Regions from separate parts of the Homo sapiens genome. Here region 2 is linked to region 1. Evidence: promoter capture Hi-C in 16 types of primary human blood cells and fetal thymus (Javierre and others, 2016). All regions are on one chromosome and are shown on one strand. Each heading gives the region's core, a stretch centred on a gene start or on the middle of the fragment in contact. The rest is flanking DNA. Distances are from core to core; before and after follow the strand shown.

What was found. The method cuts DNA at HindIII sites, captures the fragments that hold promoters and counts their contacts. A CHiCAGO score of 5 or more calls a contact.
Region 2: a contact is called between the fragment with the promoter of YIPF2 here and the fragment with the promoter of ZNF653 in region 1, in 1 of 17 cell types (neutrophils). The highest score is 7.5, in neutrophils.

Annotation. Positions count from the first base shown.
Region 1 is chr19:11,502,656-11,508,031 of GRCh38, forward strand. It overlaps ZNF653 (zinc finger protein 653), which reads right to left and starts at 3,184. Exons shown (of 9, transcript NM_138783.4): 1 at 2,833-3,184. The coding sequence starts at 3,131. It overlaps ECSIT (ECSIT signaling integrator), which reads right to left. Exons shown (of 8, transcript NM_016581.5): 5 at 5,336-5,376; 6 at 5,047-5,195; 7 at 4,802-4,907; 8 at 3,274-3,773. The coding sequence ends at 3,529. RefSeq lists enhancers at 2,280-2,349, 4,802-5,376 and silencers at 2,500-3,169, 3,330-3,379. The HindIII fragment of the contact is 17,773 bases long and covers 1-5,376 here.
Region 2 is chr19:10,926,091-10,931,466 of GRCh38, forward strand. YIPF2 (Yip1 domain family member 2) reads right to left here and starts at 2,549. Exons shown (of 10, transcript NM_001321439.2): 1 at 2,421-2,549; 2 at 2,290-2,350; 3 at 1,709-1,869; 4 at 1,540-1,626. The coding sequence starts at 2,320. It overlaps TIMM29 (translocase of inner mitochondrial membrane 29), which reads left to right and starts at 2,721. Exons shown (of 2, transcript NM_138358.4): 1 at 2,721-2,826; 2 at 2,924-4,164. The coding sequence starts at 2,733. The coding sequence ends at 3,612. RefSeq lists enhancers at 1,180-1,882, 1,883-2,583 and silencers at 2,797-3,076, 3,117-3,166. The HindIII fragment of the contact is 36,725 bases long and covers 1-5,376 here.

The DNA.
Region 1 (5,376 bases), core at 1,934-4,433:
CTGCATCTCAAAAATAAATAAACAAATAAATAAGGAAATAAAAGGCCAGGCCCAGGCCCGGGTATGGTTTCATCTTTACATTTAAATCTGCAACCCCGCCGGGCGCAGTGGCTCACACCTGTAATCCCAGCACTTTGGGAGGCCGAGGCAGGCAGACCTCTTGAGGTCAGGAGTTCGAGACCAGCCTAGCCAACATGGCGAAACCCCGTCTCTACTAAAAATACAAAAATTAGCCGGGCATGGGGGTGCACGCCTGTAATCCCAGCTACTCGGGAGGCTGAGGCAGGAGAATCGCTTGAACGCGGGAGGCAGAGGTTGCAGTGAGCTGAGGCTGCGCCAATGTACTCCAGCCTGGGTAACAGAGCAAGACTCCATCTCAAAAAAAAAAAAGGTGGGGGGGGCATCAGGGGAAATAAAGGCAGACCATACCACTTCTTTCTCTGTACAAAATCTTGCACTTAAGAAAAGGCTCCCACCTCACTGGGAGGAAAAACTGGAGTCCTCTCCATGGCTCTGGATGACCTTCCCTGTCACCAATCTGTCCTTGTCTTCCCTTCTCCCCCTCACTCATTGCAGTCCAGCCACACAAGCCTCTTCAGTGTTCCTGGCACACAATAGGCAGGGTCCTGCCTCAGGACCTTTGCCTTTGCTATTCCCTCTGCCTCAACTCTTCCCCAGAGATCTGCATGGCTCCTCCTAGGTTCCTTCATGTCTTTACTGAAATGCTATCTTCTGAATGTGACCACCTTAACTCCCTATTTAAACTTCCAACTCACACTCTTCATTTCACTTTTGTTTTTTCCGTAGCCCCTATCTCTCATGGACGATACAATTTACTTATGTTTCTGGTCTGCAGTAAACAAGCCTTTTGCCAGGTATGGTGGCTCATGACTTTAATCCCAGCACTTCGGGAGGCTGAGGACGGAGGATCCCTTGAGCCGAGGAGTTCGTGACCAGCCTGGGCAACATGGCGAGACCCCCATCTCCATGAAAAATTAAAAAATTAGCCAGGTGAGGTGGCTCCTCTGTAGTCCCAGCTACTTGGGAGACTGAGGCAGGAGGATCCCTTGAGCCTGGGAGGTTGAGGCTGCTGTGAGCTATGAACATGCCACTGTACTCTGGCCTGGGTGACAAAGTGAGACCCTGTCTCAAGAACAAACAAACAGGGCTGGGCACAATGGCTTACACCTGTAATCCCAGCACTTTGAGAGGCTGAGGCCGGAGAATCACTTGAGCCTAGGAGTTTGAAATCAGCCTGGGCAACACAGGGAAACCTCTGTCTCTACAAAAAATACAAAAATTAGCCAGGTGGAGTGACGTGCACCTGTGGTCCCAACTACTCAGGAGGCGGAGGTAAGAGGATCACTTGAACCCACGAGGTTGAGGCTGCAGTAAGCCGTGATCATGCCACTGCATTCCACTCTGGGCGAGAGAGTGAGACCCTGTCTCAAAAAGAAAAACGAGGGCCGGGCGCGGTGGCTCACGCCTGTAATCCCAGCACTTTGGGAGGCCGAGGCGGGTGGATCACGAGGTCAGGAGATCGAGGCCATCCTGGCTAACAGAGTAAAACCCTGTCTCTACTAAAAATACAAAAAATTAGCCGGGCGTGGTGGCGGGCGGCTGCAGTCCCAGCTACTTGGGAGGCTGAGGCAGGAGAATGGCGTGAACCCGGGAGGCGGAGCTTGCAGTGAACGGAGATCGTGCCACTGCACTCCAGCCTGGGCGACAGAGCAAGACTCTGTCTCAAAAAAAAAGAAAAGAAAAGAAAAACGAACAAAAAAACCCCCCAGACCTTTGAACAAGCCATCCCCTCTGCCCACCAGAATGTCCGCTCCATGAGGCAGGTATCTTTGCGCTCCCAGCATTTCCAGTCCTGCTCTTGAGCATATAAGCCAGCCTGCTGTCCTGGGAAAGGGGTGGGTATAACTTAGCAGGATCTGTTTGATTCTTGACTCTCAGAATCTCCCCCCAGAGAAACATGAGAACATGTGTACCTGAAAACCAGGGCAGAACAAGGATTTCCTTGCGGCACTGCTTGTGATACGGAATAAACGTCATCCTCGTAAAAGTTAATACTTAGGGAACCCACTACCTGCCAGGCACTCTTCTAAGCTCTTTGCCTATTTTAACTCAATCATCACATCAACATATAAGGCAGGAAGGGAAAAACTCCATCCACACTGCTCCTTCTCAAGACTGAGAATTTACAAAGACAGGCCTCTCTGCCCTCCACCTGCCAAGCTAACTAGGGGTTTCCTCTTCATCCGAGTCTCCCTGGGCTGAGTTGCTTCACAGAAATAGGTTTAGGGGAGTGCAGTCCAGGTTGTGAAGGGTCCCCCGGATGTGTTGGATCTAGGGTTGTGGGAATGGGGCCATACGGAGTCCCAGATGGGGCACCAGAACTTCAAGAAGGGCAGGGCTGAGTGCCCCAGGGTGTCCAGAGTCCCAGGCCAGGTGGGGAACTAAGCGGGGGAGGATGAGACCGGTGAGGGGGCGGGGCTGCCCCCCCAGGGCCTGGTTAGTTACAAGGCCTGGAGGTGGGGCCAGTCCCAGGATTGGGCCGCCAGAGTTCTAGCGGGCGGGGCCAAGCGCTCAGAAGGCGGGTCGAGGGGCTGGGTGCACCCTAGGATTGGGCAGTCGGAACGATGGGAGGCGGGGCCACGAGCCAGGCGCGTCCCGGCCAGGCAGTACGAGACCCAGGCCGCCGGCCCGGCTCCTGGGCGGGGTCCGCAGGTGCCGGGGGCTGGCCCTAGAAGCGGAGGGGGCGGGGTAAAGCCCGGCGGGGTCTGGGGGCGTCTCCTCCCTCCCTCCCTCGGGGCCAGGCCCCCTCACCCGTGGCGGCCGCTCCGCTGGCCGCGCTCCAGAGAGATGAGGTAGGCGGCGAGCTTGGCGTCGCTCCAGCCGCTGCGGCGCCGCAGGTCCACCCAGGGCCCGTGCGCCTCGCCCAGGTACACGCGCCGCACGTCGTACTTCTTCCGGGACTCGAGCCGTCGCCGGGCCCGGTCCGACTCCGTGAGTCGCGGCCGGCCCCGCGCCTTTCGGCCCGCTGCGCCCTCCTCGGCTGCTGCCTCCCCGCCCGCGCCCGCCTCAGCCTCCGCCTCCGCCTCGGGCTCTAGCGCCCGCTCCGCCATCCCCCCCACCCTGGTTACCAGCCTCCCCCGTTGTTAGGAGCCAGACCGGAAGTGGCGCGCATCTTCGGCGCCGCCGAGAAATTTCTCACGGTCTCTCGCTGCCCCAGGGCGCCAAAAGGAGACCAAGAATGGAAACTGCGCATGCGCACAACCAACAGCGCTCCCGCCCCTTTTTATTTGAATTCGGAGAACCAGAGGCGCCTGCAGATTCTGGAGGGGTCTCGCCTGCCCATCGCTGGCAGCCCGAGATCCTGGGGAGGGGATGCCATACTGCTAGAGATGAGGGAAGAGAGCCCCAAGCAGGAAAACATTGATTTGCTGTACACTCAAAGGGCATCTCATGCCTTCAGTCCACCGCCTCCTCGGGCCACAGCCCGTGCCCTCGCGCCGGCTCAGACTAGCTCTGGCCCTGCTGCTGTCGCTGCAGGTTGTCGTCTTCTTCCTGGTGGTCCTCGGGCAGGGGCGGCTCCTCCAGCCCTGCAGAGGATGTCTGGAGCTCCCGGGTGGACCCGGCGAGGCGGAAGACCACGGGGATCTGGGCCAGGGTTGGGTTGGTCTCCTGCAGGCCCTGGATCCACTTAGCCATCGTCGCCTGGTCATGAGCACCCGCCATGCACATGGCGAAGACAGGGCCTTCCTCCACTGTTGGAAGACATGCACCCTTAAGGTTTGCACAGTGGGGGCTGCAGCGGCTAACCCATGCCTACACCTTTTTGAGGTATTTTACACTCCCTTCCACTTCCTTTTTTTTTTTTTTTTTTTTTTTGAGACGGAGTCTCGCTGTGTCACCCAGGCTGGAGTGCAGTGGCGAGATCTCGGCTCACTGCAACATCCGCCTCCCAGGTTCAAGTGATTCTCCTGCCTCGGCCTCCCGAGGAGCTGGGATTACAGGTGCACAGCACCACGCCGGGCTAATTTTTAAATTTTTAGTAGAGATGGGGTTTCACCATGTTGGCCAGGCTGGTCTCGAATTCCTGACCTCAAATGATCTACCCGCCTCAGCCTCCCAGAGTGCTGGGATTACAGGCGTGAGCCACTGTGCCCGGCTTCCTTCCACTTTCTTGTGCCTCCAAACCTTTGCACAAGCTAGCCCCGCTGCCTAGGCTGCCCACTCCACACTTCACCCGGGCGATGACTCCTGGTTTTTCTGTATTCTGCCAGGAAGGCCTCCTGACCCCCCACTCAAGGCATGCTCCTCTCCTAAGCTCCCCAAAGTGTAATTTGCCTGTTCCCTTGCTGACTCGAGGGACTAGGTTTGTCCTGGTGACACCCAGTAGCCAGCACAGAGTTGTAGGAGGGAGGGAATGAACAAGGGCCAACAGGGCTGGGTGACCTCAGGTCTGGAGCCCCTGGGGCAAATGAGTGTGTGCGGCCGGAGGACGAGGGTGTAAGTGGACTGCGTCTCAGCCTGGGCCTACCCCTTGACCCCAGAGGCCGCCCCTCATCCTGGGTGGTGTTTGGAATGTTTGGAAGTCCTGCCTGTCCAGGTTTTTGCCTTTTTTTTTTTTTTTTTTGACACAGGGTCTATCATGTAGGCTGGAGTGCAGTGGCTCTATAATAGTTCACTGCAACCTCAACTCCTGGGCTCAAGTGATCCTCCCACCTCAGCCTGTAGGAGGGCTGGGATTACGAGCACACATGTGAGCCACCGCACCTGGCCCAGTTTTTACCTTCATTGATGTCAAACTCGTAGTTGTCCCAGCCACTCCTCACATACTCCAGGTCCAGCTGCATCGGGTAGTAGAGGTTCCACTCCTCCGGCGTCTCTTCCACTTCCTACTCCAAGGTGGGGAGTGCAGGCGGGGTCAGAGGCCAGGGCTCTCTCGGTCTCCCTCCTCCAGCCTCTCCCATGCACCCTCAGGGTAGTGCCAGCCCACTCCCCAGCCCCAACACATGCTTTGCTTTAAGCCCTCACCCTCTCCTCCGGGGGCAGCAAGTCAGCTCTGAGGATGTGGTAATACACACACTTGTTGCGGAGCCACAGGGAGAAGGGGCCCTCAACAAAGACAGGCCGGGCTGGATTGTGGCGGGCCAGGGCGGCCTGCTGATCGGGACTCTGGATTCCTGGTGTGGAGACATACATGCCCTGTGCCCTGCAAGGGACTCGGCCCAGAGGCCCAGGGAGCCCAGCCTAGGCCCAGCGAGAACCTGGCAGGGCCTGGGTAAGGTTAGAGACTTGGCTGCCCCCATGCTCTCGGACTTACCTACGATGTGGGGCTGGGGGGGATCTGCTGCACCTGTTGAG
Region 2 (5,376 bases), core at 1,299-3,798, 580 kb before region 1:
AATAGAGACGGGATTTCACCATGTTGGCCAGGCTGGTCTCGAACTCCTGACCTCAGGTAATCCACCCACCTCGGCCTCCCAAAGTACTGGGATTACAGGCGTGAGCCACCGTTCCCAGCCCCCTCTTTTTTTTCCCTCTTTTTTTTTTTGTTTTGAGACGGAGTCTCGCTCTGTCACCCAGGCTGGAGTGCAGTGGTGCCATCTCGGCTCACTGCAAGCTCCGCCTCCTGGGTTCACACCATTCTCCTGCCTCAGCCTCCCAAAGAGCAGGGACTACAGGCGCCCACCACCACCCCCGGCTAATTTTTTGTATTTTTAGTAGAGATGGGGTTTCACCGTGTTAGCCAGGATGGTCTCGATCTCCTGACCTCATGATCCTCCCACCTTGGCCTCCCAAAGTGCTGGGATTACAGGCGTGAGCCACCGCACCCGGCCTCAGCACCCCCTTTTTCTTTTTGAGACAGAGTCTCACTCTGTTCAGGCTGGAGTGCAGTGGCACGATCTTGGCTCACTACCACCTCCGCCTCCCAGGTTCAAGTGATTCTCGAGCCTCAGACTCCTGAGTAGCTGGGACTACAGGTGTGTGCCACCATGCCTGGCTAATTTTTGTATTTTTAGTAGAGATGGGGTTTCACCGCGTTGGCCAGGCTGGTCTCCAACTCCTGACCTCAAGTGATCCACCGCCTCGGCATCCCAAAGTGCTAGGATTACAGGCGCCGACCACTGCACTTGGCTAATTTTTCTATTTTATTTTATTTTTTATTTAATTTTATTTTATTTATCTTATTTTATTTTTGAGACAGAGTCTCATTCTTTTTGCCCAGGCTGGAGTGCACTGGCACGATCTTGGCTCACTGCAACCTCCGCCTGGCGGATTCAAGCGATTCTCCTGCCTCAGCCTCCAGAGTAGCTGGGATTACAGGCGCCCACCACAAAGCCCGGCTAATTTTGTTGTATTTTTAGTAGAGACGGGGTTTCACCATGTTTGGCCAGGCTGGTCTCAAACTCCTGACCTCAGGTGATCCACCCACCCAGGCCTCTCAAAGTGCTGGGATTACAGGCATGAGCCACCCCGCACCCGGCAGTTTTTGTATTTTTGGTAGAGACGGGGTTTCCCCATGTTAGCCAGGCTGGTCTTGAACTCCTCAGGTTATCTGCCCACCTCGGCCCCCTTAAGTGCTGGGATTACAGGCAGGAGCCACTGCGCCCAGTCCATCTTTGGTCTTCTGCATATGCTGTTCCCTGTGCCTGGAACATATACTCCTGCTTCCCTACCCTATTCCCCAGGGAAGCCTTCTGTCTCCTTTAGGTCTCAGCCAATTCCTCACCTCCCCCAGGAGGCCTTTCTCTAACCCACCAGATTGTGTGTGTCCCCTGTGTTCCCATAGTCCCGATCCATAACCAGTCCCACCATAACCCTTTGAGAGCACCACAGTTCGTTCACCAGCACCCACCATCACCAGCACCCTGCCCAGGGGAAGAGTGGCTGAACCCTGAGCATAACTCTGAGCCCCATCCCACCTGCCTCCCCAGCCTGACCTGTGAGGTGTCCACGTCAAAGAAGCTCTGATAGTAGCTGAAGGTCCAGAATCCCGGCTGCTGCTGCTGCTGCTGCTCCTGCAGGAGCTGCACATTGCGGGCATTCAGTGCCTGCCCGGAGAGCCTGGGTCAGCTGGGGGCTGCAAGGAGGCAGGACACAGGGACTCACCGCGGCCTTGTCACTCTCCTCCTCCACCTCATCCTCGGCTCCATAGCTGCCACCTGAGCCCACGGCCACAGCCACGTGCCCTTGTGGGGTCAGCTGATCGCTTCTGCTGGTGGTGGCTGCATCTGGGGTGTCAGCCAGAAGATTAGTGGCCTCCTCGAATTCTGTGGAGGAGGTATATGGGACACACGCACGTTTGAGGGGTGGAAAGAACTCGACTGGGCCCAAGCTAAACCGATGCTCATCTGGGGGCGGAGGCTCTGCTGAGCCATTGATCTCCCCCAAGGTGGGGCCCAACTTCCTCAGTTTGGAGGCATCCGGAGGACATCTGTTCCCTTCCTCCTAAAGTGGAACTGCAACTTAGGGTTGACGCTGGGATGGGGTCAGGGTCTGGGGACGAGAGGCTCGGGTTTGAGGTCTGAGTTCAGGGCGGGGGCGGGGTTCGAGTCAGAGATGGGTCTCACTCCTGGGTCAGGGTTCACAGCCGCCTAGGCTTCGGGGTAGAGAAATTGGAAGCCGTATCGGGGGGAGGTTCTGGCCCGGGGCGGGAGTGGGAGATCCGGCCACGTCGGGGCCGCACTCACCATGGAAGGTCAGCTCGTCGGCCGATGCCATGGTCGTTCAGGGGCGTCTCCGCATCCCTCGCTGAGGACAGAGACCGGTCAGGCACACTTCCCCCCCGCCCCCGAGCCGGTCCCTCGGCCCCCAGCCCTACCTGGCGACCAACTGCACCCACGGAGGCTTGAACTCGTCGTCCCGTCCCCACAGGTGCGCTCCGCCCCCCCTCACCTGAGGCCACCTGGGCCGGCGTGGCTGGGGCTCTCTGCGCCTGCGCGTCTCGCCTACCCGTCAGACTCCAACCGACTCAGACCTGACAGCAACATCCGGCGCCTGTCCTCTTTCTATCCTCTCCCGTTGGGAAGCCACTTCCGGTAAAGTTGGCGCTTGCGCAGAAGAGACTCCCGGGCTCTTAACGTCGGGTATCAGGAGTTTCTTCCCGGAGCAAGGACCCCCAAGACGGAAGAGGATGGCCGCGGCGGCTCTGAGGAGATTTTGGTCCCGGCGCCGCGCAGAGGCGGGCGACGCGGTAGTGGCGAAGCCGGGAGTGTGGGCGCGGCTGGGTGAGTAGCGGCGGAAGGCGGCAGGGTGGGTGGCCGCCGCGACAGGGTGGGTGGCCGCCGCGGCCGGATCACTCTTACCGCGCTCCTCTCCCCTCAGGGTCCTGGGCCCGCGCGCTGCTCCGGGACTACGCCGAGGCCTGCAGGGACGCTTCGGCGGAGGCTAGGGCCCGGCCGGGGCGCGCCGCTGTGTATGTGGGTCTGCTGGGCGGCGCGGCGGCCTGCTTCACGCTGGCGCCCAGCGAGGGTGCCTTCGAGGAGGCGCTGCTGGAGGCGTCGGGGACCCTCCTGCTGCTGGCGCCGGCCACCCGCAACCGCGAGTCCGAAGCCTTCGTGCAGAGGCTGCTCTGGCTGCGGGGCCGTGGCCGCCTGCGCTACGTCAACCTGGGGCTCTGCTCGCTGGTGTACGAGGCGCCCTTCGACGCCCAGGCCAGCCTCTACCAGGCGCGTTGCCGCTACCTGCAGCCCCGCTGGACCGACTTCCCCGGCCGGGTCCTGGACGTGGGCTTCGTGGGTCGCTGGTGGGTGCTGGGGGCCTGGATGCGCGACTGCGACATCAACGACGACGAATTCCTGCACCTGCCGGCGCATTTGCGGGTGGTCGGGCCCCAGCAGCTGCATTCCGAGACCAACGAGCGGCTCTTCGATGAGAAGTACAAGCCTGTCGTGCTCACCGACGATCAGGTGGACCAGGCGCTGTGGGAGGAGCAGGTCTTGCAGAAGGAGAAGAAGGACAGGCTCGCCCTGAGCCAGGCCCACTCGCTGGTGCAGGCGGAGGCCCCGAGATGAAACCCTGAGGCCCCCGAGTCCTGGCAAACTGCTTGCCTGGGGTGGTGCAGTTCTGAGTGTGCCTCACCTGCAGAACAGCTGAGACAGATGATGTGCAAAGTGTTTTCTCACTGGATTTGCACAAGTTTGGGGAGCCTTTCTGCCCCCCGTCTTTGTTCTTTATTAGCTGAAGCTAATTCAGAGCCACCTGGGTCCGGGAGTTGGGGACAGCAGAACGACTTGACACATGTTCATCACTGGCAGAGCTGGTCATGAGCCTTTTATATAAGCCTTTTTCATCGGGCCTCAGAGGCCCTCCTTAAGGAGGTACCACATTGGTCAGCTGACTTGCAAACTCTTCTAAGGCCACTTAGATTTTCTTTTTCAAGTTTGGGTTGTGGCCTGGCATGGTGATGTCTGTAATCCCAGCAGTTTGCAAACTGAGGCAAGAGAATCGCTTGAGGCCAGGAGTTTGAGGCCAGCTAGAGTGACATAGCAAGACTCCGATGCTACAAAAAAGAATAATAATAGTAATTAACTAAATAAAATTTGAGCTGAAATGTTTTTATTCTATGACCTATTCTCTCTCGTTTTTTTTTTTTTTTTTTTTGAGACAGGGTCTTGCTCTGTTTTGCCTGCTGGAGTGCAGTGGTGCAATCTCGGCTCACTGCAACCTCTGCCTCCCAGGTTCAAGTGATTCTCCTGCCTCAGCCTCCTCAGTAGCTGGGATTACAGGCCTGTGCCAACATGCCTGGCAAATTGTTGTATTTTTAATAGAGATGGGGTTTCACCATATTGGCCAGGCTGGTCTTGAACTCCTGACCTCAGGTGATCCACCTGCCTCGCATTTCCAAAGTGCTGGGATTATAGGAGTGAACCACCACACCTGGCCTTTCATTTTGATAAGTAACATTTTTGCCATTCCCAGCTCTTTGGAAGGCTGAGGTAGGAGGATTGCTTGAGATCAGGAGTTCAAGACCAGTTTAGGTAAAATAGTGAGAGCTTTCTCAAAAACTAAAATATTTGGAAGGGTAAAGCAGGCAAATCATTTGAGCTTAGGAGTTCAACACCAGCCTGGGCAATATGGCAAAACCCCGTCTCTACAAAAAGTACAAAAATTTACCAAAGGTGTTGAATGAGAATTGAAAATATGTATACATAGAAAAATTAGCCAGACATGTTGGACCATGTCTGTAGTCCCAGCTATTCAGGAAGGCTGAGATGGGAGGATCACCTGAGCCTGGGAGTTCAACGCTGCAGTGAGCCACGATCGTGCCACTGCACTCCATCTTGGACAACAGAGTGAGACTGTCTCAAAAAGTAAAATAAGTGGATGGGCCCGGTGGCTCAAGCCTGTAATCCCAGCACTTTGGGAGGCCGAGGCAGGTGGATCACGACGTCAGGAGATGGAGACCATCCTAGCTAACACGGTGAAACCCCATCTCTACTAAAAATTCAAAAAAATTGGCCGGGCGCGGTGGCTCACGCCTGTAATCCCAGCACTTTGGGAGGCCCAGTCAGGTGGATCACGAGGTCAGGAGATCGAGACCATCCTGGCTAACATGGTGAAACCCCGTCTCTACTAAAAATACAAAAAATTACCGGGGCGTGGTGGCGGGCACCTATAGTCCCAGCTACTCAGGAGGCTGAGGCAGGAGAATGGCATGAACCTGGGAGGCGGAGCTTGCAGTGAGCCGAGATTGCGCCACTGCACTCCAGCCTGGGCGACAGAACAAGACTCCGTCTCAAAAAAAAAAAAAAAAAAAAAATAGCTGGGCGTGGTGG